Linked DNA regions of Homo sapiens: regions 1 and 3 are each linked to region 2. Evidence: promoter capture Hi-C in 16 types of primary human blood cells and fetal thymus (Javierre and others, 2016). All regions are on one chromosome and are shown on one strand. The core of a region is centred on a gene start or on the middle of the fragment in contact, and the rest is flanking DNA. Distances in the headings are between cores, read along the strand shown. Region 1 overlaps IGF2BP2 (insulin like growth factor 2 mRNA binding protein 2). Region 2 holds the start of IGF2BP2 (insulin like growth factor 2 mRNA binding protein 2). Region 3 overlaps IGF2BP2 (insulin like growth factor 2 mRNA binding protein 2).

Region 1 (3,715 bases), core at 1,203-3,702, 140 kb after region 2:
TAACCTAGTAAAATTGGGTTAATGCTACTAAAAATATGTGAAAAGGATAGTGTATTTCGTGTGTCATTTTAAGAATATAATAGTGGTATATCATTTATCCCCTATCAAATTGATAAATATCTTTAAATAACAGCGCTCTGTGCATTTGAAGATTCAAGGACACAAATGCTCTCTCCTAAACTGCTATGGGATCATAAATGTTGAAACCATTCCAGGGGCCCACTGGGCAATAGTTAACAATTCTACTAGGAATTTGTCCTGTGTGCAAAGTTGTAGTTGCAAAGATGCCAATGGTGACAGTGTGTGTAACTGTAAAAGGTTGGATACAACAGATATCTAACTATAAAGGATCAGTTGCAAAAACTATGGTAAATCAATAGAATGTTAAACAGTCATTAAAAATTATACTGATACTGCAGTTGAGTCATGTGTAAATTATACTGAAAGGTACTTAGTGACATTGAAAAATGTTTTAGAATATTAACTGTTTTTTTAAAGGTTAGAACATAGTATGTACAATATTAACCCATTTTTATAAGCAATAATATGTTTATATTTAAGAAAGACAGTAAAGATAGTGGATTAGGATTTTATTTGCACTTACATATTTCTGAATTTTCAATAATATGTATGATGATTAAAATGAGAAAAAAATGAGTCATAATTTTATACTGATATTTATAAGAGTTTTTGATAAGGGGGAAATGGCCTTGAGTGGTGGAGAAACCAGGCTGTAATGTTGGATATGAAGCCTGACCAGGCTGATGCGTTGTGATTACTTGTTTAACTGTTAACCGTAAGCCCTGAGGGAGCAGAGATGGTGTCTGTCTTGCTCACCACTGTATGTTCAGTGCCTGGCATGGCACCATATAGGCACCTATTAAATGGGAGTGAATGAACCAGTCTTGCGGGAGGGTCTTTCTTTTTTTTTTTTTTTTTGAGACGGAGTCTCGCTCTGTCGCCCAGGCTGGAGTGCAGTGGCAGGATCTCGGCTCACTGCAAGCTCCGCCTCCCGGGTTCACGCCATTCTCCTGCCTCAGCCTCCCAAGTAGCTGGGACTACAGGCGCCCGCCACTACGCCCGGCTAATTTTTTGTATTTTTAGTAGAGACGGGGTTTCACCGTTTTAGCCGGGATGGTCTCGATCTCCTGACCTCGTGATCCACCCGCCTCGGCCTCCCAAAGTGCTGGGATTACAGGCGTGAGCCACCGCGCCCGGCCGGGAGGGTCTTTCTTGATGTTGGTTTCTGACGAAGCTCCCCTGTCCTGCTGCATTTCAGAGCCATGGAGAAGCTAAGCGGGCATCAGTTTGAGAACTACTCCTTCAAGATTTCCTACATCCCGGATGAAGAGGTGAGCTCCCCTTCGCCCCCTCAGCGAGCCCAGCGTGGGGACCACTCTTCCCGGGAGCAAGGCCACGCCCCTGGGGGCACTTCTCAGGCCAGACAGATTGATTTCCCGCTGCGGATCCTGGTCCCCACCCAGTTTGTTGGTGCCATCATCGGAAAGGAGGGCTTGACCATAAAGAACATCACTAAGCAGACCCAGTCCCGGTACGTGCCTGTGGGGCTTCCTTTGCTTCCTTCTGAGGGGTCCCCTGCGTGCTGGTGGGTCTCAGCCACTCTTAGGTCACAATTGCTTACATCAGCAGTGGGGGGCTGTGCTGTAAGAGACAGTGGCTTCTTTCAACAGGACTACTAACAGACTAACATCAAGCTGGGGGCTGTGACAAGCTTTCATGCTGAGAGGCTAAAAGTTCATAAAGAGGGTACTGATAACCTCACAGCCAGGACTGTTCCTGTAAGCGAACTAATGCTTATGGATGCATTGATTTCTACAAAAGCAGAGGTTTGGAGCTCTGCGGGATCCTAGAACCCACTCATCATAGCTCTTCCTCTTCCCCTGAGTCAGAGCCCTGGGGGTGGCCATTCTTGTGACAACATAGGTAGTCTCACAAAGAAGTGGGTGAGTCACTGCCACGTCAAGCAAGAAATAAAGCACACTGGCCTTCTGTTTAGTTTCCTCCCTGTTCAAGGAGACTGAACTGATTGTAAGAGTTGGTGAATAAAACGTCTTATGGAATTGTTGATTTTTGTATCTTCCTAAGACTGTAGCATGATGTAATAAAGCAAGCTCGGGACTTGAAAACAAAGACTTACGTTCAAGTTGTAGCACTTTAAATGGTTTTGTGATCTTGGAAAAGATGTTAACCTCTCTGAGCATCAGTTGCCTCTTCTATAAAAAGAGGGTTCTGGCTGGGCACCCTCTGTATTACAGAGACTCATCCCTGTAATCCCAGCACTTTGGGAGGCTGAAGCAGGGGGATCATCTGAGGTCAGGAGTTCGAGACCAGCCTGGCTAACATGGTGAAACCCTGTCTCTACTAAAAATACAAAAATCAGCCAGTTGTGGTGGCTCACGCCTGTAATCCCAGCTACTCTGGAGGCTGAGGCAGGAGAATCACTTGAACCCAGGAGGCGGAGGTTGCAGTGAGCCGAGATGGCGCCACTGCACTCCAGCCTGGGCAACAGAGTGAAACTCCATCTCTAAATAAATAAATAAATAGAGGGTTCCTGTCTGTTTTGCCAGGATTATTATGACAATTAGCACAATCAGGGAGATTGAGTGAAATAATTAATATGAAAGTACTTAAATTGCAAAGCACCCAATTACTGACACATAATAATTATTTACATGGGCTGGTACACTTTATTCAGGTCATTCAGTGGGTGTCTTGTAACCTGAAAGAGAAATGCTATTTTCTTCAGAATGTCTTATTTATCCCCAAATAATAGACACTGATATGGATGAGTCTGGAGTGCCACATCTTAGAAGTGAGGAAATAGAGAGGGAAGTTACTGTTTGGTATCCTTTTATTTTAAAATCAGCCCTGGCTTTTCCTCCAAGTTCACTGCGAAAGTGACTTTTATTTGTGTCTTTTTGTGCAAAAATTGTGTAAGGTGGCTTGAAAAAAAAATGTAACAAGTTTAAATAGAAGTGGGGTTAGCTCTCAAAGTGTGTGCCCATTTTTTAGACGTCAACCAAAGACTTGGCTCTAGGCTTTCTAACAACCAAAGTAAAAAGGATATAATCAGTTATGTAATTTTGAAAGTTAACAAAAACAGGTAGGACCACAACTACCCAAAGAAGTCTGATAAAGTCATCAAGCTTTTGAGCCATTAGTCTTAATGGCAGGCTGCCAATGGAAAGGAAACCAAAAACTTAGGCAGAGAGAGGGCATGCCTCTGTTTTCTATCCACACTCAAATATATAAAGCTTGCTTGAATTTGGTGTTCGGATTTGGATTAACATATGGCTTTTAAAAGCTGCAATCAGTTCAGAGACCGGCACTGTGCCAATGTGCAGTATTATCCTTCTCACTTTACTCTTCACTTCTGCAGTCATTTGAAAGACTACACAAAATACTTCATTTACCAAACTGGCTTCATTACTGAGTTGGCTTAGTGCCTTTGTCCTACAGCACTCCTGTAAGAACCGTTCCCTTCTAAATGAAGCTGCAAATAATTAAAATTTGGCACAAGACCCCCTGCACTGCTTGCCTCCTTCTTGGAGAATGGCACTGATTGCAAACGTGCTGATGACGCCTCCTTGTCTGTCTGTGTCCTTGCTGTACATGGGTTGGTGTGACGCTTTCTTGGGGCTAGGGTCCTATCCAGATGACCTTGTAATCATGGCTCCTGATTCTTTTCCTACAG
Region 2 (3,615 bases), core at 690-3,189:
TAGCCCTCACAACAGCCCTGCGAGGACTGGTTATTTTATCTCCTTATAGATGAAGAAACTTAGGCTCGAGAATGCTGGAACATCTCAGGGCACAAAGATGGGGGCAGAGAGAAGGTCTGAGTCCGGGGCAGATAGGCCTTCCACTCCAACAGTGTTTACCAGACCAGAATCACCTGGGAGTACTTGCGGAAAATACAAAATCCAGCAAGCCCCATTCTCTCCACGCCGCTCATCAACAGGAAAGCTTGGGAAAGACAATACTACTTCACGACCCAGTCAGGAGACCCGAACTTGTTCCATTCCTACATTCGTGACTTCTCCACCCAAGGACACTCCCCGCACCCGCGCCCCAACGCCTTCACAAAACCCAACATATCCGCGATCAAACCTTCAACTCTCCCAGTGGCCCCCAGAGGTCCAGAGCTTGGAATCTTCTTCTGCCTCCTCACCTCTGAATCCCGCCATTCTTCTCCCTCCTGTAGAATTTCATTTCCTGGCTGGGACCAGGCTCTAACCATCAGGCTTCCAGCCGGGCCCCGGAACTTGCAGCCCGCTCTAGCCTGTCTGGCTCCTGCCCGAGCCCCTCGGCTCCAGCCTGCTCTCATCCCAACCCTGCCTCTTCCGTCGGTCACGTTGTTTCCTCCGCTTGGAAGGACCTCTTTCCTCTCCGGGCCCTTCCCAGTGCTCGGGGAACTCCTACACAGCCTGCGCTCCTCCGCTTCCAGCCACCCTCGCCTCCCACCACCCTGGCTTTGGAGCTGAACCGGCCGCGCAGCCGGGCGGCGACCATCCGTCCCCCGGCCGCTGACCCCAGCGCTCCGGCCTCGCCGCAGTCCCTGGCCCCTCGGCGTTCGTTTCCCCACCCGCCACCTGGCTTTCGCCGCCGCCGCCCGGGAAGCCCTCGGCACTTCCCAGAATAGAGAGCAGCTGCCAACGTCAGGCTGCCGCCTGCCGCGGGGTTCCGGACACGCGGGGTCTGGGCGGAGAGGACGTGACTCCGCGCTGGCCTTCCGCCTTCCCTCCCCGGTCGGGAAACTGAGGCCCGGGACCGGGAACCACTTCCCCGCGAGCACGGTCCGCGAGGGCCCGGCCAACCCCGGTCCTAGGCGTCCCGACTCCCGCGCGCGATCCTTCGACCACACGCGCCGCTCGGTCACCTCAGAGAGCGTGGCGGGGAGCGGGTCTCAGAGCGAGCGCACGGCCCGGGAACGCGCAGGGCGCCAGCCCCGGCCAAGTCGCTGCGAAAGTTGTTGTCTCCCAGCCTGCCCTCGCCTCTCACCTCCGGGACACACCTTCCCGCTTGCCCTGGCAGCAGCGCACTCACATCCGGTCCACCTTGCGCACACCCCTCTCCGCGCTCACTCGCAGCCCCTCTCCCTCCCACGCCCGCGGCTCCCCGTCGCCCCCTCGCGCGCTCCCACCCGCGCCCGGGGCGCGCCTTCCCCGCCCCGCCGCTCGCCCGGCCTCGGCGCCGCGCCCGCCCGGGGTTCCGGCGCCCGGAGCCCCAGCCCGGGGCCGCGACCCGCTTCCGCCCGCCTGGCGCGGGGCCGGAGCCCGAGCAGCCACTGCCGAGCGCGGTGGGCGCGAGGCGAGGGGCGCAGCGGCGCGGGGCGGGGAGGGGGCGCTCGCTCGCTCCCTCTCGGCTGCGCACACGCCCGTACAAACTCTCACACAGACACACGCGGGGTGCGCTGCCGCCGCCCGCCGCTGCTCCTCCTCCCGCCACCGCCTTGAGAGGGAGAGAGAGGGAGGCAGAGAGAGCGCTTTGTCCGCGCGCCGCCGCCCGGCCCGGGACTCTGCCCCGAGGAGGCAGCCGCGCCGAGTCCCCGCCTCCGCCTCTGCCCCCGGGCGGGCCGGGCCGGCCGCGGTGGGGGGAGCCAGGCTGAGGGTGGGGGTGGGTGGCGGGCGGGCGGAGGGCGGGGAGGGGGGGCGGAGGAGGAGGAGAGACGAGGGCAGCGGAGGAGGCGAGGAGCGCCGGGTACCGGGCCGGGGGAGCCGCGGGCTCTCGGGGAAGAGACGGATGATGAACAAGCTTTACATCGGGAACCTGAGCCCCGCCGTCACCGCCGACGACCTCCGGCAGCTCTTTGGGGACAGGAAGCTGCCCCTGGCGGGACAGGTCCTGCTGAAGTCCGGCTACGCCTTCGTGGACTACCCCGACCAGAACTGGGCCATCCGCGCCATCGAGACCCTCTCGGGTGAGCACTCAGCGCGGCCCCCTCCCCCCGCCTCGCCCCGCTCAGGCCGGGACGGCGCCGGGAGGGAGGCCGAGTCCGGCGGGCGGCGCCCGGCGGCGGCTCCCGCGCCCGCACGCTCACTTCCACGCACCAGACCCTCAACTCTCGCCGCCGGCCCGCTCCTGGGACGGCCCGCTCCCCTCCCCCCACAGCTCTGGACTCTGCCCTCGCCCTCGGGGCCGCAGCCTTGGGGCGCCCCCCGTGCCGCTCCGAAGGCTCCCGAGGCTCGCCGGCTCCTTAGGGGCACCCCTCGTTCGCCTGGCGCCCCGGGCTGCTCTGAGCTTCCCCGCCCCCCACCCTTTGAGCGTCCCCTGTCTCACTTCTCCCCTGACCTTCCTGTCACCCCCTTTGTCAGGGTCCCCCCTTCCCCAAATCCAGCGTCTCTTCCTCCTCCCCCGGCCGGACCTTCTCTCTTCCAGTGCCTCGTGCCCAGAACCTCTCGCCCTCTGGCGTCTCCTGAGCCGCACTCTCCTTTCGAGCCCCCTCCCCACCTCGCCCCACGGCCCCCCACTTTTGGCACCCCCTCGGCGCCACCCTGGTGACCCCCTTCGAGATCTCGGGGCTCCCCCAGCCCCAGCCCTCGCACGACGGCACATCCCCTCGGTCCTTTCCCGAACCTCAGTCCCCTCTCGCTTGCTCTCTCAAGCGCTCCTATTTTTCTCTGAATTTTTTGTCCGATTTTATTGAGAAGAACTCGGGGCTGGGGGCTTTCCGCCGCCCGTCCCCCCGCCTCCCGCTCGGCCAGAAGCACCTTTTTACGAGGTGCCCTGTCTCAACTCGGTGGGGGCCAGGGTTGAGAACCGGGAAAGAGGCGACCGGGGGGCCCGCGAGCGCGCTGGAGCCCAGACAGGAGACGGAGAGCGACACACACACACACTCGCGCGCGCGCACTCCCCAACTCTCCCCAGCACACGCTCCGCTCCCAGCCGCGCGGGCCCCCGGGCCCCGGCCGGCGCCCCCCGAACCCCGGCCCGGCGGGAGCCCCTTCCCCACCGGCGTGTGGAGTGGGGGCGGGGCGGCGGCGAGGCCAAGGTGACACCCAGGAGCGGGCAGGGACAGGGCTGTCGCTGCGGCGGACTCCGGGGGGCTTCGGCTCGTTTTCTCGGGGCCACCGGGAGGAGAGGGCAGGGAGGGGAGCCCGGTGGAGCCTTCGGGCCCCGGATTAGCGGAATGGAGAGGTGGGGGCCGGGAGAGCAGCGGGGCCGCGCCAGCCCTGCAGCTTGAGTTTCAAATGAGCTCATCCTTTCAAATTGGCGCCGCTCTTTATTAAATTTGTTTTTCCGGTAATGCCACCCACGGCTATACCTGGGGTCCGACCCGGGCTCGCACCCTCCTCGCCTTGTCCCGAGACACGGGGCGCCCACCTTTCTTTCTACTG
Region 3 (3,882 bases), core at 62-2,561, 150 kb after region 2:
ATCCCAGGGTTGAACCTCAGCGCACTTGGCATCTTTTCAACAGGACTGTCCGTGCTATCTCCACCAGCAGGGCCCCGCGGAGCTCCCCCCGCTGCCCCCTACCACCCCTTCACTGTAAGTAGCTCAGCTTGTGGAGGTTTGCTTATGCGCTGGGCACCTCCAGGCAGCAGCATGCCTCTGCTGTGTGGAATCAGAACGGAAGCTTTCATTTAAAGGCCATGCTCGAGTAGAGATGAATCCAATGTAGGTTGAACTCAACATTTCTTAGGACTTCTTCCTAATGGGCAACTTAATATTAAACCAATCCTCTAAACACGTGTTCTTAAATATAGTATGTCATAACTAGCAAAGAAAGAAACTCATAGCAAATTCATCAACTAGAAGCTAATTTATTATAGAAAAGAACTTGTTAGCTCAAATAAGAACATTTCATGAGTGATGGTAATTTATTAAAATATATAGGGTACCTGGATGATTCTTGAAGAGAGATATATATCTACATACATACATGTGCAGTTTCTACCTATGTTTACAAGTCAAATGTATTGTCTTATTAATAGGCAATTTTTAAAAGAAAATATTACATACATTGTTTATGTCTAAACACTTAGCACAATGCCTGGTATTTAGTAAGTTCTCAATAAGTATTTGTTCACAACAGAAGAAGAAATGTGAATTTTGTGAGTGTTTTACTTATTGCTTTCATTCACAAGCATTATTCAAGATCAGTACATTACCAAATTGGGGGCTCAGGATACTTGACAGCTTTTTTTCATTCCTAATTTTTCTCTACGCAGACTGCTTATTTTTAAAAGCAAACTTTCCCCCAATGTTTATGCTGTTTAAATGGGAAGAATCAGGTGGGTGAACATTGCCTCAGCCATTCTGTTCTTTTGAGAAGTGCTTTCTGGGGTAGGCTTCACATTGTGTGAATTCCCAGTAGCTTTTTGGGTTATCTGTAGAGAGACAGGATGAATCCCCTGTGCCATCCTGCCAACAAAATGCAGACACAAACTGGCACCCACATGCTGAGTCACATATATGCACACATTCTGCATTCTTGCTTATATATGGCTCTTCTGAATCTTTTCTTTTTCTTTTTCTTTTTTTTTTTTTTTTGAGATGGAGTCTTGCTCTGTCGCCAGGCTGGAGTGCAGTGGCGCGATCTTGTCTCACTGCAACCTCCACCTCCTGGGTTCGAGCTATTCTCGTGCCTCAGCATCCCAAGTAGCTGGGATTACAGGCATGCATCACCACACCCAGCTAATTTTAGTAGAGAAGGGGTTTCACCATGTTGGCCAGGATGGTCTCCATCTCCTGACCTCGTGATCTGCCTGCCTCGGCCTTCCAAAGTGCTGGGATTATAGGCAGGAGCCACTACGCCCAGCCCCCTGAGTCATTTCTAAATCTCTTCATACCACCTCTTTAGTTATATCATTTCCCCTTAAACTGAAGGAGGGGACTGACACTGAGCCTTGTGTGTTGAGTAGCCTGAAGATGCAGTATGAGGGATTGTGGCAGCTGTCAGTCACATGGCTGCGCCAAGCAGTAAGAATAGCTTGGGAGTTTCACATCTCTGTATTTTTGCTGTCAGATCTGAGAATGGCCCAATGAGGTACAACCAAGTGGCATTGAGGCACATCATCATTTCTTGGGAGAGAGGCTGTACATACAGCCCCACAGAAGATAACCTCAAACGTTAGGCTACCCTCTTAGTATAGGTAATATAAGTGGGGAGAGAAAAAGGGCATAATAAATTAGACCAATTCTAAAATCGGTAATCTAGGCCGGGCATGATGGCTCACGCCTGTAATCCCAGCACTTTGGGAGGCTGAAGCAGGTGGATCTCCTGAGGTCAGGAGTTCAAGACTGACCTAGCCAGCATGGTGAAACCCCGTCTCTACTAAAACTACAAGAATTAGCCAGGTGTGGTGGTGCACGCCTGTAATCCCAGCTACTTGGGAGGCTGAGGCAAGGAGAATCACTTGAACCCTGGAGGCGGAGGTTACGGTGAGCTGAGATCGTGGCACTGCACTCCAGCCTGGGCAACAGAGTGAGACTTTGTCTCAAAATAAATAAATAAATAAATAAATTGGTAATCTCAAATATAGGAGTCAGCATGCTACAACCTGAGGGCCAAATCTAGCTCACCATTTATTTTCATTAATAAAGTTTTTTAGGGGACACAGCCATGGCTGTTTATATACATATTATCTATTCCTGCTTTCCCCCTGTAGTGGCAGAGCTGAGTAGATACATACAGATCACATGAGCCACAAAGCCTAAAATATTTATGATTTGCTCCTTTGCAGAAAAAGTTTGCTGACCCCTGAACTAAATTTAACAAGGAGAGAATTTTTCTTTTAATAGCAGAATATTTTCTAAACTTGAAAATAGGTTTTGCTAGTTGGAAAGCTTCCTTTATATCTCAGATTTTTACTAAAATAGTAGAATAACCATTTTGCTAAAATATGTGTTTCCTGTTATTTGTAAAATAGGTTTTAAATAAAAAATTGTTAAACTAAAAACAAAACAAAAACAACCAGGTAATTCTGATCTTGATTCCATGGGTCAATATTAGAGTAGCTTCTAATCCAGTACACTGACTGACTGAGACATGATGGCTTCTGCAGACATCTCCTTCATGCAGCTGCAGAAGTGCAGGTCCAATGGCATGGAGGCGGCCCTCACTGCCCACCTGTGCAGGACCTAGGCTATTCCTGGAGTGATACCTGGAGAGTCCACACCGCAGACCTGTGGGCTTCCCTGGTGGGCCCAGCAGACCTGTGGGCTTCCCTGGTGGGCCCAGGACTCCTGAGAACAGCAGCATAGGGTGGTGGAGATACTTTAAATACTTAAAGTATTGTTTTCCTGTCACATAGGCATTCAAATTTCAAGGAACTAAGATATTTCTTGGTTGCTTTTGTATATCACAAAGTTCTGATGCTTTTGCTTTTAGCATCCAAAGGTCAGGGAGTCTGTGTCCCTCCTTATAACTGGCTCATCCACACCTAGGTTGGTTTCCGAACTCTGGAATTTTTAATGCATATGTGTGTGTAGGAAAACTTTACCCCCCCCCCTTTTTTTTTTTTTTTACTGTTTTTCTGGTTATAATAGTAATATGTGCATAGTGTTTAAGAAGCAGGGAGTATGTACTTTTGAATTTCCCAAAAAACACATTTCTCTGATCCTAAAAAAGAAGCAGCAAATAATACAGAAATGCAGAACGTGCAAGTTTTTCCTTAACCTAGATATAACCAGTGTTTCTGTGTAGGTATGTGCGTGTGTGTGTGTGTATATTTATATATGATTTATATTTTTCCCCCAAATTTTCACTCTTGGAATGGAAATCCTTGTGTGTATACATCTTGATTCATTTATCCAATTATTTCCTCAGAATAATTTCCTGGAAGTAGAATCAAAGAATCTGTACATTTTCTATGCTGATACATAGTATATAATTTTGATACAAAAAAAGGTATATTACTTTTCATTCCCATCAAGAGTGTGTGTAACGGAGCAAGATTTTTTCTTCCATACCACCACTACCAATTCCTCGCAGTCTGATGTTTTAAAATATATGCTTTTTTAAATTATATGACTAAACAATTTCATATTAGCCATTTTTGTTCTCTCTGATAAGTTGCTTTCTGTATTTTTGGCCCCTCAGTTATAGCTTAGGTTCTAGAGCAGACTGCGTGCATTTGAATTTCTACACTGTCACTTGCTATTTTTAACTTTGAGCAAGTGACTTAAGCTCTTCAGGTCTGGGATTAATAATAGTACCTACATTAGGGGATTGTTATAACGGTAATTAAGTTAAAACCTACATACAGTAACTGCTATGTAAATCATAGCTGCTGTTATCATCTTTTTATTTCA

The links. The method cuts DNA at HindIII sites, captures the fragments that hold promoters and counts their contacts. A CHiCAGO score of 5 or more calls a contact.
Region 1: a contact is called between a fragment that was not itself captured here and the fragment with the promoter of IGF2BP2 in region 2, in 1 of 17 cell types (endothelial precursors). The highest score is 7.5, in endothelial precursors.
Region 3: a contact is called between a fragment that was not itself captured here and the fragment with the promoter of IGF2BP2 in region 2, in 1 of 17 cell types (endothelial precursors). The highest score is 9.1, in endothelial precursors.

Annotation. Positions count from the first base shown.
Region 1 is chr3:185,687,192-185,690,906 of GRCh38, reverse strand. It overlaps IGF2BP2 (insulin like growth factor 2 mRNA binding protein 2), which reads left to right. Exons shown (of 16, transcript NM_006548.6): 6 at 1,280-1,552. Among named protein-coding and RNA genes, the nearest start is that of IGF2BP2-AS1, 24 kb to the left of the region's middle. RefSeq lists a silencer at 1,406-1,583 and an enhancer at 1,239-2,438. The HindIII fragment of the contact is 1,435 bases long and covers 1,735-3,169 here.
Region 2 is chr3:185,823,366-185,826,980 of GRCh38, reverse strand. It overlaps IGF2BP2 (insulin like growth factor 2 mRNA binding protein 2), which reads left to right and starts at 1,939. Exons shown (of 16, transcript NM_006548.6): 1 at 1,939-2,198. The coding sequence starts at 2,021. RefSeq lists silencers at 1,122-1,211, 1,622-1,891, 1,903-2,133 and an enhancer at 3,073-3,615. The HindIII fragment of the contact is 1,788 bases long and covers 247-2,034 here.
Region 3 is chr3:185,668,773-185,672,654 of GRCh38, reverse strand. IGF2BP2 (insulin like growth factor 2 mRNA binding protein 2) reads left to right here. Exons shown (of 16, transcript NM_006548.6): 10 at 1-114. Among named protein-coding and RNA genes, the nearest start is that of IGF2BP2-AS1, 43 kb to the left of the region's middle. The HindIII fragment of the contact is 2,213 bases long and covers 205-2,417 here.